7 separate regions of the Homo sapiens genome follow, and all the other regions are linked to region 4. The links are contacts of gene promoters, found by promoter capture Hi-C in blood cells and fetal thymus (Javierre and others, 2016). All regions are on one chromosome and are shown on one strand. The core of a region is centred on a gene start or on the middle of the fragment in contact, and the rest is flanking DNA. Distances in the headings are between cores, read along the strand shown.

Region 1 (2,930 bases), core at 127-2,626, 430 kb before region 4:
TTCCTCTTTAATGAACCTTAATCCTTGAATATTTTAAACAGCGTTGGGTTTTTCTCCTTCTAAAATGGTACTTATGCTGTCTTTGAGTCCTAGAGTATTATCCTAACTTCTACCTTATCATAGTCCTATTTTTCTTTTAACCTTAGCTTTCTCTCTAAAGTCTTTGACTGCAACTAGAGAAGGTTTTTTTTTTTTTTTTTAAACTTCTGTATTTTCTGTCTGAGTCACTCATTTGGAAACCAGTATATGCCATCTTAAACTGTTTGTTCAATTATTTGCTTATTTGTTTTACAAAATATCCTGTCTCCCTGAACAGAGATCACATCAGTCTCCAGAGTCCCACTTTGGACTCAATTTGGTATAGTATTTGATGTACAGGCCCTTGATGTTAGCTGCTGATTTTGTCAAGTGATAAAGGGCAGGAAGGAAGACTTCCAGTCTCTGAATATTCATCTTGACTACCAGTCACAGGAGGGGAGGGGTGTCTGCCAGCCAGAAAAAAGTTTGAGGCTTATACTAACATATTTTGTCAGGAGGCTCTCTGACACTCATGCTCCCACCTCCCAGAGAGCCCAGGAAATCCAGCACATATAGGATATTCCTCTCAACTGCTGGGTAGCTGGGAACAGCGGCTGCGGTTGCTGAGCAGTTGCCTAGGGCAGCTTGGCCACCCTGGAGAACCAAGAAAAGAGGGGAAATAAAGAGTTTTCCTAGGCATGCAAGCAATCACTTGAATGTTAAAAGAAAACTAGGCCCGTTGTGTTCACAGTAAATTTTCTCAATTAGAAATGTTATAACAAATTTGTCTGATGTTAATGGAAAGCATACTTATACACATATTCATAAAGTGAACAAACATCAAAGACATTTTAAAGGGGGTTTTTTGACATCATAATTTGGGTTTGTAACATAAAGAAAACAAATAGTGATTAATCAACTAAGTAAGCTTTAGGGACTTTTGTATGTTGACTGATAATGATGTATGACCTTTTCTAAGAAAAAAATGGATTTTTAATGGGCATAAACATTTTAATCCCTATTTGGTTTCCAAGCCAATTTGATTTTCCAAGGGGCATAAGAAAATGTTGAATTGTCCTTTTGTTTGTAATAAGATGCTATATGGGCATATATGTTAACATATTTTCTATGTATCCTAGAGCAGAGAAATTTAAACCTAGGGTCCATAGGGTTCACAGATCCCTTGGATCCATAGAATGGCTTCAGAATGTCTCTGAACAATCTGAAACTGTAGGCAAAATTTGTGAATGTGTTTATAGAAAAAGGGTTTATAGTTTTCATCAGATTCTCAAAGGGGTGTGTGACCTAAAGAAGATTACAACTACTTCTTAGAAATGATTTGAACCACTATCCTTGCCTATAGATATTTAACAAGGAGTAGAAATGTGTAATCAAGGTATGGCTATAAAACAGAGCTTAGCCATTTTCAGGTTATATATTTCAACCAACTTGATCCAAAACGTACTTCACAACTCTACATGTAGATGCGAACTTAACCTTCTTGCTGTCTTATCTATGGATATTCGATTGAATTACGTGAAACTGCTGTTTTTGTTAGTGAAAAGGGTCGAATATTGGCAAATACATTCAAGACACTGCAATACATTTCTGGTTTTGAGGTAGATGCTGTTTACAGAGGAGATTCTGTATACTAAAAGTGGTGCACAGTTATTATACAGAGCCTTAAAATTGGAAAGAAAACTTTACGGTTCCCATAGCAAAGCCAGATCAGAAAAGAATATAATTTTCACATAGTAGGGGCAATCTAAAAACTCAAGATGAATGAAGACAAGCTTCTTTAAATCATTTTTAGAGATGAATCAATAACTGAAATGGAAAGTTATCAATAAATGCCAGGGATTATTTTGTGAATAATAATGATAACCCTCTTATCTTTTGAAGCACAAAGAAATAAATGACTTTTCCAACATTACCTAAACCAGTTTTTCATCTCCCATAAAAATAAGAAATGCCTTGCAACTATCCCTTTCAATGAAGGGGTAGGAAAGCTAAGTGAAGCAAGAAAAACGTGAAAAAAGTCATTGTCTTAAGTGGACTGTCAGGGCCTGGCACACAGTAGGTGCTCAATTAAATACTTATTTGAATGTCTAATGTATTAAGATTCTTTGACTGAAGGTTATACACTCCTGCATAATCTTTATTAAAGAATCACTAATGTAAATACCAGATATGTGTCAAAATTCACAAATGTTTTAAGACAGATTTTTTTTGTACTTACCTCAGCAGAGTTGTGATACTGAATGAAGGTTGCAGAAATGGCATGGCTGAAGGGGTCCCCTGCCTTGGTTACCATGTCTTGCCTCACAAGAAGAGCCAGATCCACTAACTAGAAGACCAGAAGAATGAAAGTCACATAGCTAGAAATAATCATGAATGCCACTGAAGTGGCAAACCTAAAAGCAATACATTCTGAATGTTACTGATAATCCTGCTTGCCTAAAAATCTATATTGTAGACATGAGCACACACTTTCATTGACTGGTGAATGGACCTAGTCATGATATATTCTGACTTTTTAGGAGAGTAGTTCTCAAAATTTATTTCACAGTCACTAGTGCAAATTTCTGGGCTTTAAGTCCAGAGATTCTAATTCAGTAGGTCTGTTTTAAGCATATAGTCTAGGAATTTGCTTATTTTATTTTATTTTATTAATTTTTGAAATGGAGTTTCGCTCTTGTTGCCCAGGCTGGAGTGCAATGGTGCGACCTCAGCTCACTGCAACCTCGGCCTCCTAGGTTCAAATGATTCTCCTGCCTCAGCCTTCCTGAGTAGCTGGGACTACAGGTGCCCGCCACCATGCCCGGCTAACTTTTTTTTGGTATTATTAGTAGAGATGTGGTTTCACCATATTGGCCAAGCTGGTCTTGAACTCCTGACTGCAGGTGATCCAC
Region 2 (2,755 bases), core at 69-2,568, 290 kb before region 4:
GGCATTAAAATCATCCTTAGGAACTCATAGGAAATGGTAAACATATAATATCACCAAGTCTCCCTTTTTGAAAATTAGAAATAACTCAATCATGCTCCATTCCTGGTCAACCAAGAATTTTAAATTTATAATGCTTGCATGACTAAATGTGATTTTGTTCTATGACACAGAGACTAAGCATACATAAACTAAATCAGCCACTTAGACACGTAGCTTGAAGTACTTATGTACATAACAAAGCACTGGGATTTTAAGAATCTTGGTTTTAAAAACTCCCTCCAGCAATTCTTCCATCTCTAAAACTCTAGGCTTCTTAGAGTTTTGTTGCATTCAAAATGGCCTCAGCAATTGGTTCATAATGATGTCACAGGAGTAACCAGAAAAACTGTGCATCACTGGTACTGAAAATGAGAGTTATTTATCTGTGAATAGGTACACGGCTAAAATATGTTGAACGTAAATCTATTTCCATAATTATTAATAAATAAAATTTAATATTTAAGATATCAGTAATAGTGAACACTAGGTGTCAGTGTAAGAAACGGAAAAATATTTTTAAAAACCTGTTGTTTCCAATCAGGTGTATAACAATAAAATCAAAAGCAGCTGTGACCACATTTACTTATAATTACATAATTCGGTTAACAAGCCAATCTTTCTTTCAAACAAAAATTTCTGTTCCAAAACCATCAAGAGTTTAAAATCAGATTAAGCTAATTATTAGAAGTTACAAGTCTTTTGTAACCTTGGCTACATAAAGCATAGCAAATTTTTACTTTTAAGAATATATATTTTGAAGAAAATTCTACTTTTAGGAATACATATTTTGAAGTGTTAAAGTGCAGAACTACTATACTGCATTATTTTCGTTGGTTATTTTTCAAAATAATAATGCTGGATGATTAATAAATGATACTGAATTTTAAGCTTTTCCCCAAACAGAAGTTTCCCACATAAATTTCAAGTTATTAAAAGTTAAAATGTTTAAAGGGTCAATTCACAAGGAAAGGGCACACGAACTTAGGAAGTACAATTGCTTCTCTTAAAATTTTAGTACCTAGAATTTTTCTAAAGTATAAATGCTATCATTTATACTAAAAATATCATCTAATAACTTTACCAATATTTCAGATAAAGAGTTTTCTCTATAGACTTTTGAGGGTAAATGCTTTTAAAACACAAGTTTTAAAAAGATTATTATTAGCAATAATAATAAAAGGAAATGTCAACATCAAAACAGTGTCCCTAGTTTTATGAAAAGGCACTTTACAATTTACAAACACATTCATAGTATTACTTAATTTACACCTAATAATAATAATATAAGAAATCTATACTCATTTTAGCACACTGGTCAAGTTTGGGGGCTTGAGCTCTCTGTTTCATCTACCTATTTATCCATTTCTCTGTTTCACCTCCCTCAAACTCCACATTACTATGTACTTATGAAATCATGTATTTTTCAAGAATGTTGGGAAATTTCTTCACACAATATTCTGAAAACCATCAAGTTTGAAAAAGAAACAAAACTAAACATAGAAGTCGCCACTAAAATACAATATCTTAGGACTCGAAGATCATTTAGGAGAATATTCAAGGATTTGCTGGATAAAAATAAGTGCTTTCAGTCAATGCTGTTTCTTATTTCAATGATAGTTAAGTTCTATTCCAATTATAGAGATAAAACGAGAAGGCATAAAATTAATGGAAAAGCTTCCTAAGTCTCCAGGATTGAAATGAATTAAATTTAGATCATTCTGCGTCTGCAGGTTTCTTCTCAGGGACATAAAATCAGACGGGAACTGACAAGAAAGGAACAAGGAAACTCATGTTTAATAAATTATCTAAACTGGGTTTTAAGAATGTTGAGGTATCTAAGAATATTGGCAATAAAAAGTAGAGGTAGGAGAAATAGTGACAAAACTGTATAAGGCATGACATGCTAAAGCAGAAGGGTGGCCTCAGAAATACTGCATGCTATGAATCTTCGAGCGCTCTTTCTGCCTCTTAGTGTCTTTGCCTTTGACACTCTGTTACTCCAAATGTCAAAAAATTTTTTGGCTGCCATTAATCCTGTTCCCATTGGCAAATAATGTAGACCAGTGTTAGGTCATTTACACACATTATCTTATATAATGCCTATGATGTAGGTAAATTCCAAGAGATGACTAAATGAGGACTTGGATTAAGGAATATGCTCAAGACTGTATAACTGGCAAGTTATGAAGCCAAGATTCAAATCCAGCAATGTTTGTCTCCAAAAACATTCCAGTCTACAAGCATTTACCAACTCATGGCTCACGAACCCTGTGGGTTTTGCAAAAGTAATCAGGGATCAGGGGAGTCACATCTAGAACAGTGATTACCAAATGAGAATATACCAAGTTAGTACATATAAATGTACTAACAACTCAGTATTTCTATCAGTTTCTCACTCAGATCAATACTGACAGCTGTCATGGTAGATTTGATTGTTATATGATTTTAAATTCATTTATTCTCTGTGATATGGAATTTAATTTATACCCATACTGAACTATTGTTTACAGGTAGTAAGCATAAGTAGTTGAAGCTAAAACAAAATAATATATAACAATTACACTAACTTTGTAAATTTGATATCTTTCTTTACCAGAATAAGATGTATTCATCTGAAGGAAAGTAGAATTCAGTACATTGAGATATGGACTTCAAAATATCATATGAATGGAAAATATAGTAGCAAGTATACACAATTTAGCTTTTTGTTTATCCA
Region 3 (2,786 bases), core at 282-2,781, 450 kb after region 4:
CCTTTGCACTGGCTACTCCACTACCTGGATTACTCTTTCCCCAGTGATCTCTCAGCTCACCTTCTTACCTCCTTTGAGCCTATATCTCAATGGCACCCTCTTAGAGACACCCCTTTTTTTTCCTCAGCACTCCTCCTAACCCTTCTAGGCTTTGCTTTTTGCCAAAGCCCTTAGAAATCCCATATGTTTTGTTTATTCATTTATTTATCTGCTTCTCCCAGTGGAACTCCAGGGAGAGGGAGACTTTCGCTGTTTTGTTTACTACTGCACCCCCGGGGACTAAAACAGTGCCTGGTCCTTAGTGATGATTCATATGTGTTTGAATGAGATATTGAATAAAAGAATGAGTTCTCATTATATATTAGTATTTATGAGTCATGGTAAGTGCTGTGTTCTTGGCTTTACGGATGAAGAAACAGAGTCCCAGAAGATTTTGTGACTTGTCTGAGGTCACGCAGCTTGTGGTAGAGCCAGCTTTAGAACCCAGGGGCTATGACCTGCAGCCTCAGGTCTTTTGGGCAACCACTTCCTGCATTTCCATGCAGCTATTTCCAGGCAGGCACATACCCGGCTCTGACACGGACTCTGGACAGGCTCAATATGCAGATACACAGTCTTTCCCCGAAGTGAGAAGAGGGTACCACACTGCTGCTGTCATTTCCTGGACAGAGAAATGTGCATCTTGCCCGCTGGGTTCAGAGCAATAGTAATTACGAGAGTCTGGAGGGAAGTGAGAAAAGGTATCAGGGGCATTTAACAACCTTCACTGACCTGCAAATTATTATTTACAGTAACACAGAGCATTTCCTCTTCAGAGGCAAAGATGTAGAACATATCATATATGTGTCTTTCTTTTTTTCTTTCTTACTTTTTTTTTTTTTTTTTTTTAAAGAAGACTGACTTCTCACAGTGCTCTCCGGAAGCAGACAGAGAAGAGAAAGGGTTATTGGGCAGGTCAGAACGGACTTACCCTTAGGAGATGAAAGGAATGAATCTTCACTGTACTTTCTTAAATTCCTCCAGGAACTCTATGAAGATGATATTGGAAAACCTGAGAATCTCACTGTAAACTTTTGAGAGGCTGGGTCGGGTTTTATTTAACATGCATCTCCTGTTGATTCGGCACACTGCTTTGCAACAGCAGGTCTGGAGAAGTGTGTTCAGATTGACTGCCTGGGCTGGGAGGGGCTTTGGTTCTCATCTCTTCCAATCTCGTCCCCAGGATGTAGACCATCTGCTCATTCCTAGACTGCAGCTGCCAAACCAAAAACACGTCCACTGACTGGTAGCTCATTACCTATCACAGCAGCCCTTCTTTTTATACTGCTTATGTTGAACTACTGTCTTCTTCCTACAAGCTCCACCCTTCAGGTCTAGTTCTTTCTTCTGGATTGACAGAGGATAAATCTACTATGTTAGTAACAGATAAGCTTTCTTACATGAAATAGAGCAAGTTCTCCTTATCTCACTGGCTCTAAAAAGCAGAACTTGGCACCTAGCAGTCTGTGAAAGCAGGAGTTCCCTGAGAGTCCTCCCACAGTGTGTGTGTGTGTGTGTGTGTGTGTGTGTGTGTGTGTGTTTCTGCGTGGGGAGTGTGTTTCTAATGTGGTGGTGCAGAGTTTGACATTGGAGTCAAGCTTCTTGGGCTCATTTCCAGGCTCTATCACACAGCCCTGTGACTTGGATATGACACTTAGCCTCTCTGTGTCTCAGTTTCTTAAGCTGTAAAATGGGAAGAATAATAGTGACAACCTGATGGGATTGTTGTGATAATTAAATGTGCAAATGCCGTGAAGCATTAGTAGAGTGCCAACCTAGCATATACTGTGTGCCAATGATGCAGTGTCTTTGGGAGGATGTTCTGCTTCTCATGGGTTATAACAAGCAGAAGAAAGCCGTGGATCTGGGGGAATTGTCCCTTGTCCCTGGTGCCTTCTCCTTCAGTGCTTCTCTGTTTTCCTCCCTCTTTCTCCTCCCCTATCTGTTCCCAGGCCGTTCTCCAGTGGTCTAGTCCCAGTATACTGTTCTCTAAGCTGTACAGCTGCTTTTTCTATGCCTGGGGACACTTAGACTTTTTCACAGGGAACCAGGGAGATCCACAATTCTTCCAGGTGCAAAGGAGTGACTCTAAGGGTGACCTCTCAGTGTGGTGAGTGGGAAACAGGTATTCAGGGAACTGAAAGTAAAACCCTTCCCAGTACCCCTCACCCCACAACCACAAACACTCACCTACTTGGACCATTGATTGTGTGTGTCCATGAAGTCACATCTTCCTGCCACATGTTTTAAACTTGACATTTTCTACCTCGCTAAGTTGTGACAAATCCTTTGATATGGCCGAGAATGAATTGCTTTAAATTTAGTCGGAATTCGTGATACATCACATGAAATGAGAAGAAAGACAACCTGATCAACAAATGATATTAATGTTCCAAATTTTGGATGGGTTTAAAACTAAACATAAAGAGAGGAAACTGACAGTTTTTGTTTGTTTGTTTTTTGTTTTGTTTTTTTGAGACAGGGTCTCGCTCTGTTTCCCAGTCTGGAGTGCAGTAGCAAGATCTCTGATTACTGCAGCCTTGATCACCCAGACTCAAACCATCCACCCACTTCAGCCTCCCAAGTAGCTGGGACTACAGGCCTGTGCCACTATGCCCAGCTAATTTTTCTACTTTTAGTAGAGATGGGATTTCTCCAGGTTGTCTAGGCTGGTCTCGAATTCCTGGGCTCAAGCCACCTTGGCTTCTCAACATGCTGGAATTATAGGCATGAGCCACTACGCCTGG
Region 4 (2,901 bases), core at 60-2,559:
ATATCCTGAGATAAGAAACTTTCCATAGCACAATGAAGAGCATTCCATTCTTGCAAAGTACTCTCACGAACTGTTTCTCATAGGCAAATTCAGCCTCTTTGAAACATTCACCAGAAATTCCCCAAGTTTTGTCCTTCAAGTAAATCTTTGCAGGGCGAATTTAATTCCTCTTCCAGAGTCTGCCCTTCACATATACTAAGACCCCAGGTCCTCTCCTTCCAAATACATACATACATATATACACATACATATACTTATATACACACATATGTATATACATATATATACACACACATTTCTTTCTACCGAAATAACTTAACATTTCTATTAGCCTCTTGGAGAAATGCTAATTTATCCACGTGTACAGTAATACTACGTCCAGGATCGTCTGAGTGTCAAATATTACATATCACTGTCTTCATAACTTCACTCTCACGTGTGAGACCAAGTGTCCTGATTCTCTGAGAAAATAAGGTCACAGTCATTCTGAACTCCTAAAACGTGGAGAGCAAAAGCAGAGCTAATATGTACTGAGCAGCACCTGGCGCTGTTCTAAGCGTTTAACGTGTATTTTCTCATATAATCCTCACAATTCTGAAATAGGCTATAAGATCGCCATTTTACAGACCAAAACAAGGCAAAGACAAGCTAAATAATTTCCCCAGGGGTCACAGACGTGAGCTCACCCCACAGAGAACACAGCGGATCTTTTCCTCTTTCTGGATGCTACACTCCCACTAACTACCTAACTCTTCTCTCGCCGTGCCATAAAGCAACAATTTCCCTCTTTAATGATTCCTCCGGCAGCCCCCACACTACCTAGACGACCCGCGCACCCCGCTTCTCAGCACAGCCCAGCCCCCCTCACCCCACGCCCACCCGCCAAAAGGGAGGAGTCGAGAGGCAACTCCACGCTCGGCAGCGGAACCAGGGCGCTGCGCCCGGCCAGCGCCTCCCACAGCCGCCCTCCCTTCAACACTCCGGCGTAGACCACGAAGACCCAGGCAGCCGCCCTCGAGCCGGGGCCAGGGCGTGGCCGGCGCGGGGGCCCAGCGACGCTGGGATCTCCGCTCTGCGTCCCTCCCGGCTCTCTGACGTCTCCCCCGCCCGAATCCCCGCACCGCCCCCCGCAAGCCCTACAACCTCTGCTTTAAGAACCCTTGGAGGCACTGCTGCGCTTCCCGCGAGGAGAATGTGGGGGTGGAGATGGTGCGGTTTCTGCTGCTGCGGCCCGGGACACGCTTGGAAAGGGGCGGGGTGGGGGACTGAGAGTGTGGAGTGTAGAAAGGGAAAAGGTGACTCGGCTGTGTGACGGGGCGATGGGGGGGGTACAAGATGGCGTGAGCCCGACTCTCGGTGGGGCGGGGGTTGCGGAGACTGAGGAGTAAGCGATACGGACGCCCCCCGCACTGGCAGTGCGGGCGCATGCGCGCTTGGCCAGGTGGCGCGCGCTCTCCCAGCCCGAGCGAGCTACTTCCGCCACGCTCGCCGGGGGCGGGGCGTTGTGCGCGGCCTTCAGGGCCCGGCTTGGGCAGCGCTGAGCCACGCGGCGGCGTTTAGAGCTGGGGACGCTGGGAGCGGAGTGGGGACGAGCTGAGATCGGTCAGGGTGTACAGGGTGCAGGCTTGAATTCTTTAGGAATTGGGCCCGAGAGGGCTAGGATTTTTGAAGGATTGGGTGACCGGCACTGGAAGTTGATTTTCAACTCCGAGGAAGAGATTCACCGTTCTAAGCTTCTTTCCAGGAATTGGAGTGAACGGGATCTTAATGGGATTGCGCGTTTACAATGGTGAAGGGAAACGGAGGGGTCTGAACGCTCCCCGCAGGGCCGCAGTACAGGCGTGTGGATGTGGAACCCTTTCTGGGACGGCGAAACCAGCTCTTACGCCGCTTCCGCGCGCCATCACTCCCTACCCTGACCTCGCACAGAATCTGTTTCATTAATCTGCTATTAATGTTTTTTCCCCAACTCATGTTACTAGACGCAGGCGTTTAACTACCATGTTTTGTTATTGAAAACTTTTTCTACTTGAAGGCTTTTTTTTTTTTTTGGACGATTCTGTGTTTAGATTTTGGCCTGTTCCTCATTTTAAAATCTTGCACCCCCAGTATTGTACTGTACATTCTGTCCTGCCACATTTAATTGATATAGATGTAGTTCTTTAAATAATACAGTAGTCGTAAGACAATGCTTTCAGTCTTTCACTCTTTATATTATATGAAGTCTTATTTATATTTAACATTCTTATTGCCTGCTTAGAGAAGAAAACTGGTTATCCATGCTCACCTTCACACCTGTGTTGTCAAATACTATAAAATACTGTATTTTATAGGGATTCAAGTATTAACCCTCACCAAGTCTTTTTAAGCATCACTGCTTCAGTTATTTTCTTGCCTATAGATACTGTGAGTTCTGAAATCCCTTCCTTCTATTTGCTTAAATTGTTTAAAATAGCAACTTATTTGGTTATTTCCTCTGTGGATTGTAGTTGAGTCTGCTAGTGTTGTGTTTGATTCTCTTTAATCTCCCCAACGCTTCAATATTTGCCAAATACCTAAAATTCCAAAAGAATAGATATATTTAGGATGTGAGAGCTCAGCTTGATGTGTAAATCAGGGATCAATTCATTGCTGAGCAAAGTGTGCAGTATAAGGGAAAGTAACAGAGTGAGTATGGTGATAACTTCTTACATGGGAAGACTGGTTGAAAGCTCTTTTGAGTACATTACCAAGAAATTAGTTAACAGAAGATTAAGAGAAAAATTAATGTTCACATCTAAAGAAACATAAAAGTAGATCATTTCAATTAAAATTATGTTCAGTTAATGTTATCATAGAAGTTCCTGCACTGGAGTTTCACCTGCATCAGATGAGTACCTGTTTGATCCAGTTTATCAGGAT
Region 5 (2,905 bases), core at 143-2,642, 340 kb after region 4:
GCGAGTGCTGACTATATGCCAGGCATGGTGCTGAGTGCTTGCTTTTTTTTCTGAGATGGAGTCTCGTTCTGTCACCCAGGCTGGAGTGCAGTGGCGCGATCTCGGCTCACTGCAACCTCCGCCTCCCAGGTTCAAGTGATTCTTCCACCTCAGCCTCCCGAGTAGCTGGGATCACAGGCACCCGCCATCATGCCCGGCTAATTTTTGTATTTTTAGTAAAGACGGGGTTTCATAATGTTAGCCAGGCTGGTCTTGAACTCCTGACCTCAGGTAATCTGCCCACCTTGGCCACCCAAAGTGCTGGGATTATAGGGGTGAGCCACCTCACCTGGTCCCTGAGTGCTTTTACATAGATTATCTTATTTATTCCTTGCAATAAGTCTGTAAAAGTAGGTGCCATTACATTTTAGAGATGAGAAAACGGAGGTTCAGTGGTTCTAGGTGACTTGTCTGAGGTTATCTGAGTAGAAGGTGACAGGGTTGGGATTTGAACCAATGTCTGGCCCCAAAGCCTGGATGCGTCCCTTTATACACACAGGCTCTTCTAATGAAAATGGGGCATTTATTTCTGTATATACTGTGGCTACGTTCTCCAAACAGTTCGGAGCTTTAGAAAATATTTTGAGAATTCTCACTCAGATAGACTTTCCGGCAAATACAACTTATTTTGCTTGAGAATTTCCCTGTTTCTTGCACCTTTGTCTATTCAGCTTGGAGAACCAACCTTGGGGAACAAAATCTCCCTCCACCTATCACAGACATTTTCTTTGAGACAGCAGCTGAGCCACCATCCACAGCTTCACCTATCAAGACAGGTGTCTCTGTTTTCCATGAAAGGTGTGACTGCCGGAGATCTCTGTCTTCAGCATTCTCCACCCTTCCCTCCCAGTGCTGCAGAAAGCCTGGCATAGGGTCAGGCTGGTGAGGCTGGATCCAGGCCTACCTTCTTGAACTTTAAGCCGTAAGTGGGACATTTACAAGGGAAAGATCCCTTCTGTGGAATCTCACTGTGAAGTTTCAAGGGCTGCTGCCCCACGCCCACTATGGGCGCTCATAGCCAGGGCTTCTCTGCGTGTCTTACTCTCATCTCTACATCTTTCACTCTCACCGTTATCTCTGAAGAACCAAAGGGAGAAATCACAGGAGTTGGAAATTCCGATGAACCTTTTGCTCTTAGTTGTTGTGCTGAGGCTGGGTGAGTCTCATTTTTAGAAGAAGATGGTGAGAGATTAGTGACCGTGGCTGCTAATCAGCCTTCATCTGAGGAGGAGGACTGCAGAGCCCCATTTTGTCAAAATGAGAGGGAAAATAAGGCAATGAGGCATGTGAAAGGGAAATGTGTTTTTATTTCCTTAAAACCATGCTTTACTGAAAGAGGCACACTGCTTGGGTCTCAGGCGCCCGAGGTGGACTCTGAAAGCTGGCTCTGAGAAGGGAGCGGGAGGGCAGAGAAGGGGAAAACCCATCTGGGACTTTAGCGAATTTTGAGCTATTCAAAAGTTGTTGATCTTGCCAGATTCCAACTTCTGACAGCTGCTAAATATGGCACCTGAGAAAATAGCTTTGATTTTGTAATTTGGAAATGGGAAGGGAAAATTCATTAGGGTTAAATGCACAGAAAGAACACCAGCGGCTTTCCTGTGTCCATCCAGAGGCTTTTAGAGACTTATTGAGTCCTGGTACACAGAGAGTAGATGTGAGGTCCCGCAAGGACGAAAAAGACATTTCCTCCCCTCTGAGCTTGGGCACTAACAATGACAAGCTGAAGGCAAAGGCTGTTAGGAATTCGCCTCTATGCAACATCCCCCTCTACTGGATTCTTGCATGGAAAACAGCACCCTTACAGCCTCTGCTGCCCTAGAAGGTTTTCAGAGCTCTTTCTCTATGTTAACACACACTTTGGAGTCGCCAAGGCAATTTCCCCTCCCTTCTCTATTATTTCCTTGATTAAGATGAAACATTCTGTAAATGCACACACATCCAAGAAAGATAAGACACCAGAGAGAGAGGAATGAAATGATGATGGGGTCAGTGTGGAATTTTAGGACTCCAGAAGATTGGGTTGTTTACCTAGTGTGGGATTGAGGGCCAGAGAGGGGGGCCTTGCTGGAGGCACACAGCTGGTAAAAGGCAACACTTATGCTGGAACCCCACCTCTCCCGACTCCCCTTTAGTGCTCTTTCTCATGTGACAGAGTGACATGTATATTCAGAGTGATTGAACCTTGAACGTGGTTTCTGGTCATGGAAACCACAGGGCTTGTCTAAGGAGAAGGTGATCCTTCTGATTGTTTCTCTTGCAAGATCTCCTTCTCTGACCTGGGTGGACTTACTGCAGTTGCAACTGACCCCAGGGAATGGGGTCAGAAATGGTCTGGCCCCAGGTCATTGGTGATCCATAGACCATAAGTCCAGGCAGGGAGCCTGATACCATGAGAAGCACCTTCATGTCTTCCCCAGTCACAGGGCTGGGGCCTTCCCTATTAGAGTCAAGTGCATCTACAGCAGTCTGCCCAGTAGAAATTTCCACAATGGTGGAAATGAGCCATGTCTGCACTGTCTAATATGTAGCCACCAGCCACATGTGACTTCTGAGTCCTTGAAATGTGGCTAGGGTGACTGAGGAACTGAATTTTGAATTGTATTTAATTGTAATTAATTTAAATTTAAATAGTTACATGTGTCTAGTGGCTACTTGATGGACAGGACAGTTCTAGGAAAGACTTGTTGACATATATACATCACTTGGCCAATGAGACAGTAGTTTTCTTATTAGGTGCTGCTTGATAATTGGCAGGGCTGCGAGCAGAGGACAGAACCTGGGATGTGGCAGAACAGCTTGTACAAGCAGTGCTGGAGCAGGAGGAAAAACACCAAGGCTAAACTCTTGCTTCTGCCCCAGAGTA
Region 6 (2,700 bases), core at 46-2,545, 400 kb before region 4:
TTTCTTCAAGCATCAGGTAAAACAGAACGCAATTACTGTCAAACAGATTGGAATTATTAAGTTCTTTCCATTTACCAAACTGTTAACTAAAACAATTTTTATAGTAGACCAGGTCTACCTTAAGACACTAATTATTTTCTTGAAGTACGTTCTTATCAATCCAGGGGGCTCATTCACGTTTTATTAGTTAAGATTATTTCTGGCTACATATATAAGCCAAAATTATAGTTGCTTAGGCAAGATCAAAGTTTATTTTTCCTCACATAAATGAATTCTGGAGATAGGTATTCAGGCTTTACACAAACACTGACTGAAGTCTCCAGGGCCTCAATCTCCTCCAGTATCTGCTCTGACATTTTGTGATTCAGAATGTCTTGGCTTCTAAAGCTCCAGCCTTGAATCTGCATAAAATAGACAAATGCAGAAAGGGTAGGGAGTGTACCCTTTCTCTAAAAAAAAAAAAAAGAAAAAATGACAGTAAGTCCTCACTTCATCTCATTGATAAGTTCTCGGAAACTGAAAATTTATGTGAAACAACATATAACAAAATCATTTTTTTCTTTGTCCCTCATCAATGTTATAACAAAATGACAGTGAAGGAAAGGAAGTTGAGGGCCTGCTGTACAATGATGTTACGTGAGGGCTTATTGTACTAAGGATTCCCATAGAATGCTTACATTTCATTGGCCACAACTCAGTCGTGTGACCAAACGTGGCTGAGGGTAAGAGAAATGCAGATTTTCTTTCTTTCTTCTTGTTTGGTCTAGATGTTAAAATACCCAGCTACAAATCAGTTTTGTTACAAAGGAAGGAGAACATGGATACTGAGTGGCAAGTAGTTGTGTCTACATGGTGGTATATGACTGAGGTTAAAAATTCATTACATCTATGTGACCCATCATAATCATTTCCAGAACTGATTTTTAGCAGTCATAGGAACCTCTAATAAGTTTAAGAATGAGGATTCTCTTCCTTCACATCACTTACAAACATTTTTTTAAATGCAATTTATGTAGCTTTAAACTTCACTAGAGTACTTTCAGAGGATAAGGAGAAGGCAAAGTTAAGTCAAATAACCATGTCTAATAACTGTCCTAATTCCAAAAAGATTAAGAAGCGCACGTCTGAAGAAGTAGATTTAGTGGCATTTAATCTATTCATACCTTAGAGTTAGCATAACAACTCCTCAAGGAAGGCAAGTGACAGGAAAAGGGGTTTGACAAATGATTCACTCCAATGCCTACTTAAATGCTTTGCCGTTTTGCGTAAATGCCAGCTGGTGGGATGGATCACTGCTACTGACATGTTCTACTCTAACTCTTTACTGGAAGCCCAGCTATAGCTGCTATCCATCTCAAACTTCATCTTAGGGAGAAATACACTACAGGATATGAGGGGTAAAGTGATTCCAAGAACAAGGAACTTGAAAGTAACAGAGAATATTTGCAGAGCTGGGTATAAATAAATGAAGGATGGATTTTAATGAAGAAGTCATATACCTGGAAAATATTGCTTCACTTGTTAACAAAAAGCATGAAATTACATTTTTGTCGTTTTATTTTGATGAGAGAGATATGAATAAAGCAAATGACATTTAAGATATATTTGAAAAGGAATGGACTGGGTACATCATAGGGTAAATACGATTCCAACCCAATCCCAATACATTCTGTATATCAACAGTGCTTAAGTGTTGTAACTCAGTGGCAAATGAGTTTTAATCATAACCCAAATATTTTGAAATATTCTTCTATAATATTGAGAAACATTTTATACCATTAGAAAAAGATTAGCGTGAGTGGTAATAGGAATGTTTACCTGGGAATCAGAAGATCTGGACTCTAGGTCTCAGTTTTACCTCTAACACAAGATGGGACTCTCTAGGTTAAGTTGCTTCATCTCACTGTGACTGAGTTCTCTCTTCTTTAATATAGCTCTGAGATTCTGTGGTTCTACGTGTATTCTCTTATCTCAGGGAACTCCTGAAAGCCTTAGAAACATTTTGGCTGGGCATGGTAGCTCATGCCTGTAATCTCAGCACTTTGGGAGGTGAAACTCCATCTCTACATGACATGAAAAAAAAAAAAAAAAGCAAAACTAGCTAGGGACCATGGTGCGTGCCTGTAGTCCCAGCTACTGGGGAGGCTAAAGTGGGAGGATCGCTTGAGCACAGGAGTTTGACACTGCAGTGAGCAATGATCTCACTATTGTGCTCCAGCCTGGTCAACAGAGTGAGATCCTGTGTCTAAAACAAAGCAAAGCAAAACAAAAGAAAAGAAAAAGAAATTTAAAAAGCAAAGAAATATTTCATAGTTCTAAGATTTAAGAGATAAGACAACCTGGCCAAATCCACACTGAGAAAATTTCAAGCTGTTTGCAATGATTCTTTTTGTTTGTTTGTTTGTTTGTTTGAGACAGTCTCACTCTGTCACCCAGGCTTTTTTTTTGAGATGGAGTCTCGCTCTGTCGCCCAGGCTGGAGTGCTGTGGCACAATATCAGCTCACTGCAAGCTCTGCCTCCTGGGTTCACACCATTTTCCTGCCTCAGCCTCCCGAGTAGCTGGGACTACAAGTGCCCGCCACCACGTCTGGCTAATTTTTTGTATTTTTAGTAGAGACAGTGTTTCACCGTGTTAGCCAGGATGGCCTCCATCTCCTGACCTCAATCTCCTGGCCTCCTGAAGCGCTGGGATTACAGGC
Region 7 (2,700 bases), core at 11-2,510, 380 kb before region 4:
TAAAACATTATATATGCATCTATTAGATAAACTTAGATATTTATTAAAGTCTTTTTTTTCCCTTGAATTAATCAGTCAAAGATGGGGATGGTGTGTTCTAGTCTCCACAACAAATGTTTTTCTCTGACCTCTCTCCACATACTAGAAGCTTTCAATGCTCTGGAATTTGATGATTAACAGTTTGCACCTACTATATTTTCACTATAGGTGTATCTTTTAGTAACATAAAATTATTGCCTTTATTCCATTTTAAAGCTTCTCTCCTTAAATTCTCTTTTCTCTGAAATTAATACTGTAACCCCCAGTATTACAGGGTTTGTATGATATACCTCTGATTGTTCTTTAACTTTTACCTTTTAAATAATCTAGAAAAATTACATTTCTATTTCTATATATGTATATATGGGCATAGTGTATACATGTATGTACATGAATTTGCATATGTAAATGTATATACACATATAAATGTATATACACAGATATATACATACATGTATTTATTATGTACATATGTAAACTACATATATCTTTGTAGTATATAATTCTATCTTTATTTCACAGTCCCATATATTATAACATATTTAAGAGTTTCAGTTTTTAACTCAACTTTTTAAACTTTTCTGGTATTTGTGAATGTTTATCTTACTGGGATTAGCCTTTTTCTTTTATGTTAAGTATTATGTAAGATATTTTTGGACTGTTAGCTTTACAGACATTTTATTTTCCTTTTCCTTATAACTGAAATAAATCATGATAGGTAGAAATGGGAATGGTAGAAAGACTTCAAAAACAGGAGATGGACAACTTCTACAGGCATCCACCTATTTCTTCTTCAATGAGTTTTCTAGTCCACTTACCTCCAAAAACCATAACCCTGGGACTCAAAATCTCCAGGCATCATAACCATGCCACACTTGGGCACAACTGAATGATATATCTGATTTCTCTTATTATTCAGTCTTTATGAGAAACTATATGTTTTCAAATCTATGGTCAGTTCATTTCAGGTTAAGCAAATTCAGATGACTACCTGGCACCTTATTTAATTTAAAGCTTATTATCAACAAATTTTAAGCTGCCTTAAATGTTATGTATATCACTCTGCTTTCTCTCTAGATTCCACTATTAAGCCTCTGATATGAAAACACAAGATAAAAAGTCACTAGGGATTTTCTGCACCCCAAACTGTTTAAAAGCTGCTCTCTCTGGTAAGCTCTAATCCTTGCTCTCTTGTTTACTTTTATCAATTTGAGGATTACTCTGAAGGTAGAGTTCTCTCAACTTTTTAAGCACCCATTGTTTACATCTCTTTACAAACTTAGGGGCTTACAAGACTAGATAGTTTACTTGATTATTGACAAACTTGAGCTTCTCAGGTTCCTCTACAAGCAGCAAAGCAGGTTCTTAGGCACAGCTCTTCTGTGGGTGACCACAGTTCCTCACTGACAAGAAAACTCAAAGCTATTTGAAGCTTTCAGTGACTGTATTTTGGTCTTTGGTTGACAATATTTGATTAGATGAAAAAATTAGAATGAAAGAAACATTAGCTACACTTAGACACACCTGCCTTATTTTAGGATGGAGGTGGGTGGGGTTGGAGGGAAGCTATAGTTGTATGTATTTCCCTGCTCTTCTTTCTCAGTCCCTCAAATACACTAAAGCAACTCTGAGCATTATTTAATCTTTATTTGATCATTTAAAAGGATGTTCTGAGATCATGGATCTCTACTATAGGTATGCCCAAGTGCTAGAATCTGGTGCTAGAGAAAAATAAATGTGTAAGAGTTAGCTAACTATCACGATGATGAACTAGTAAGGCAAAATGGATGTAAAAATTCAGATTTTTTTATATTTCAAGTCACATAAACTAATAGTAATGAAGTAAATTATGGATGAAACTAAAGCCAAGCACACATACATCAGCTGAAAACAATAGGAAAGAACTCAGGCTGTTTTTTGTATGTTTGCTCAATGTTTTGAGAAGAAGCTAGAATACCAAGTGAGTTTTTATATCTATAAAGAAGAAAGAAAACTAAAATTAAGCCTGTTGGTAGGTCTATACCATTTTCATACATGCTAGGGGAGAAGGTAGTAAACAAAGTTTCTGCAACCATAAGTGATGCTTGGAGGAAAGTTAAGTCATTGAATGATGCCAGGACTGATTATTCTACTGAACTTTAAAAGCAAGAGATTGCAGTCTCTGAGTCCAAAGTGGTTTCATATGAACTGCCACAGTTGTGGTTAACTCTTGAAACTATAACCTATCAAATTAGAAGCAGGCAAGGCCTATGCTCTTAACAGTTCCACTTTCTACTGTCTACAGTTAAGTTATGTCTACAAGCCCAGCATATTTTTTTCAGTTAAACTGTTATTTGGATGAGTAGAATATAAAAGCTACTCTGTTATGTTGGCCAGAGAAGATTTTTGTTATGATACAAAGCTTAACGAAGTTGCCAGTCTCATGTTTATTTGTACATATGAAGATTTTCACTGTAACTAGTTTTATCAACTTCTGATATTTTATTATCCTGGTTACCAGTATGTAATACATAACTATAAAGAAGAAGTGTACAGACTGCATAAGTACCCAAGCTTTTTCTACCCTGCATCTCCAGATATTTTATTGACTTTAGTACCCTGCTGACCCCCAGTTTTCTAGGTCTACAGTAGCCTGCTATTATAGAGCTACAAAATGTTCCA

What was found. The method cuts DNA at HindIII sites, captures the fragments that hold promoters and counts their contacts. A CHiCAGO score of 5 or more calls a contact.
Region 1: a fragment that was not itself captured here is called in contact with the fragment with the promoter of SUPT3H in region 4 in 2 of 17 cell types (total CD4 T cells and activated CD4 T cells); the score reaches 5.7 in total CD4 T cells.
Region 2: a contact is called between a fragment that was not itself captured here and the fragment with the promoter of SUPT3H in region 4, in 1 of 17 cell types (endothelial precursors). The highest score is 5.7, in endothelial precursors.
Region 3: a fragment that was not itself captured here is called in contact with the fragment with the promoter of SUPT3H in region 4 in 1 of 17 cell types (total B cells); the score reaches 6.2 in total B cells.
Region 5: a fragment that was not itself captured here is called in contact with the fragment with the promoter of SUPT3H in region 4 in 1 of 17 cell types (M0 macrophages); the score reaches 5.1 in M0 macrophages.
Region 6: a contact is called between a fragment that was not itself captured here and the fragment with the promoter of SUPT3H in region 4, in 4 of 17 cell types (naive CD4 T cells, total CD4 T cells, non-activated CD4 T cells and 1 more). The highest score is 9.8, in naive CD4 T cells.
Region 7: a fragment that was not itself captured here is called in contact with the fragment with the promoter of SUPT3H in region 4 in 3 of 17 cell types (naive CD8 T cells, total CD8 T cells and naive CD4 T cells); the score reaches 5.8 in naive CD8 T cells.

What each region holds. Positions count from the first base shown.
Region 1 is chr6:44,951,053-44,953,982 of GRCh38, forward strand. SUPT3H (SPT3 homolog, SAGA and STAGA complex component) reads right to left here. Exons shown (of 11, transcript NM_003599.4): 9 at 2,258-2,365. Among named protein-coding and RNA genes, the nearest start is that of MIR586, 250 kb to the right of the region's middle. The HindIII fragment of the contact is 865 bases long and covers 945-1,809 here.
Region 2 is chr6:45,086,352-45,089,106 of GRCh38, forward strand. The region is part of intron 3 of SUPT3H (SPT3 homolog, SAGA and STAGA complex component); the gene reads right to left. Among named protein-coding and RNA genes, the nearest start is that of MIR586, 110 kb to the right of the region's middle. The HindIII fragment of the contact is 786 bases long and covers 926-1,711 here.
Region 3 is chr6:45,830,077-45,832,862 of GRCh38, forward strand. No RefSeq gene overlaps it. Among named protein-coding and RNA genes, the nearest start is that of CLIC5, 180 kb to the right of the region's middle. The HindIII fragment of the contact is 207 bases long and covers 1,429-1,635 here.
Region 4 is chr6:45,376,625-45,379,525 of GRCh38, forward strand. It overlaps SUPT3H (SPT3 homolog, SAGA and STAGA complex component), which reads right to left and starts at 1,310. Exons shown (of 11, transcript NM_003599.4): 1 at 1,144-1,310. The region is part of intron 2 of RUNX2 (RUNX family transcription factor 2); the gene reads left to right. RefSeq lists silencers at 952-1,231, 1,552-1,601 and an enhancer at 1,242-1,785. The HindIII fragment of the contact is 7,128 bases long and covers 1-1,731 here.
Region 5 is chr6:45,713,110-45,716,014 of GRCh38, forward strand. No RefSeq gene overlaps it. Among named protein-coding and RNA genes, the nearest start is that of RUNX2-AS1, 140 kb to the left of the region's middle. RefSeq lists a silencer at 1,623-1,917. The HindIII fragment of the contact is 6,734 bases long and covers 1-2,905 here.
Region 6 is chr6:44,979,795-44,982,494 of GRCh38, forward strand. All of the region lies in intron 6 of SUPT3H (SPT3 homolog, SAGA and STAGA complex component), which reads right to left. Among named protein-coding and RNA genes, the nearest start is that of MIR586, 220 kb to the right of the region's middle. The HindIII fragment of the contact is 7,750 bases long and covers 1-2,700 here.
Region 7 is chr6:44,999,611-45,002,310 of GRCh38, forward strand. The region is part of intron 6 of SUPT3H (SPT3 homolog, SAGA and STAGA complex component); the gene reads right to left. Among named protein-coding and RNA genes, the nearest start is that of MIR586, 200 kb to the right of the region's middle. The HindIII fragment of the contact is 418 bases long and covers 1,052-1,469 here.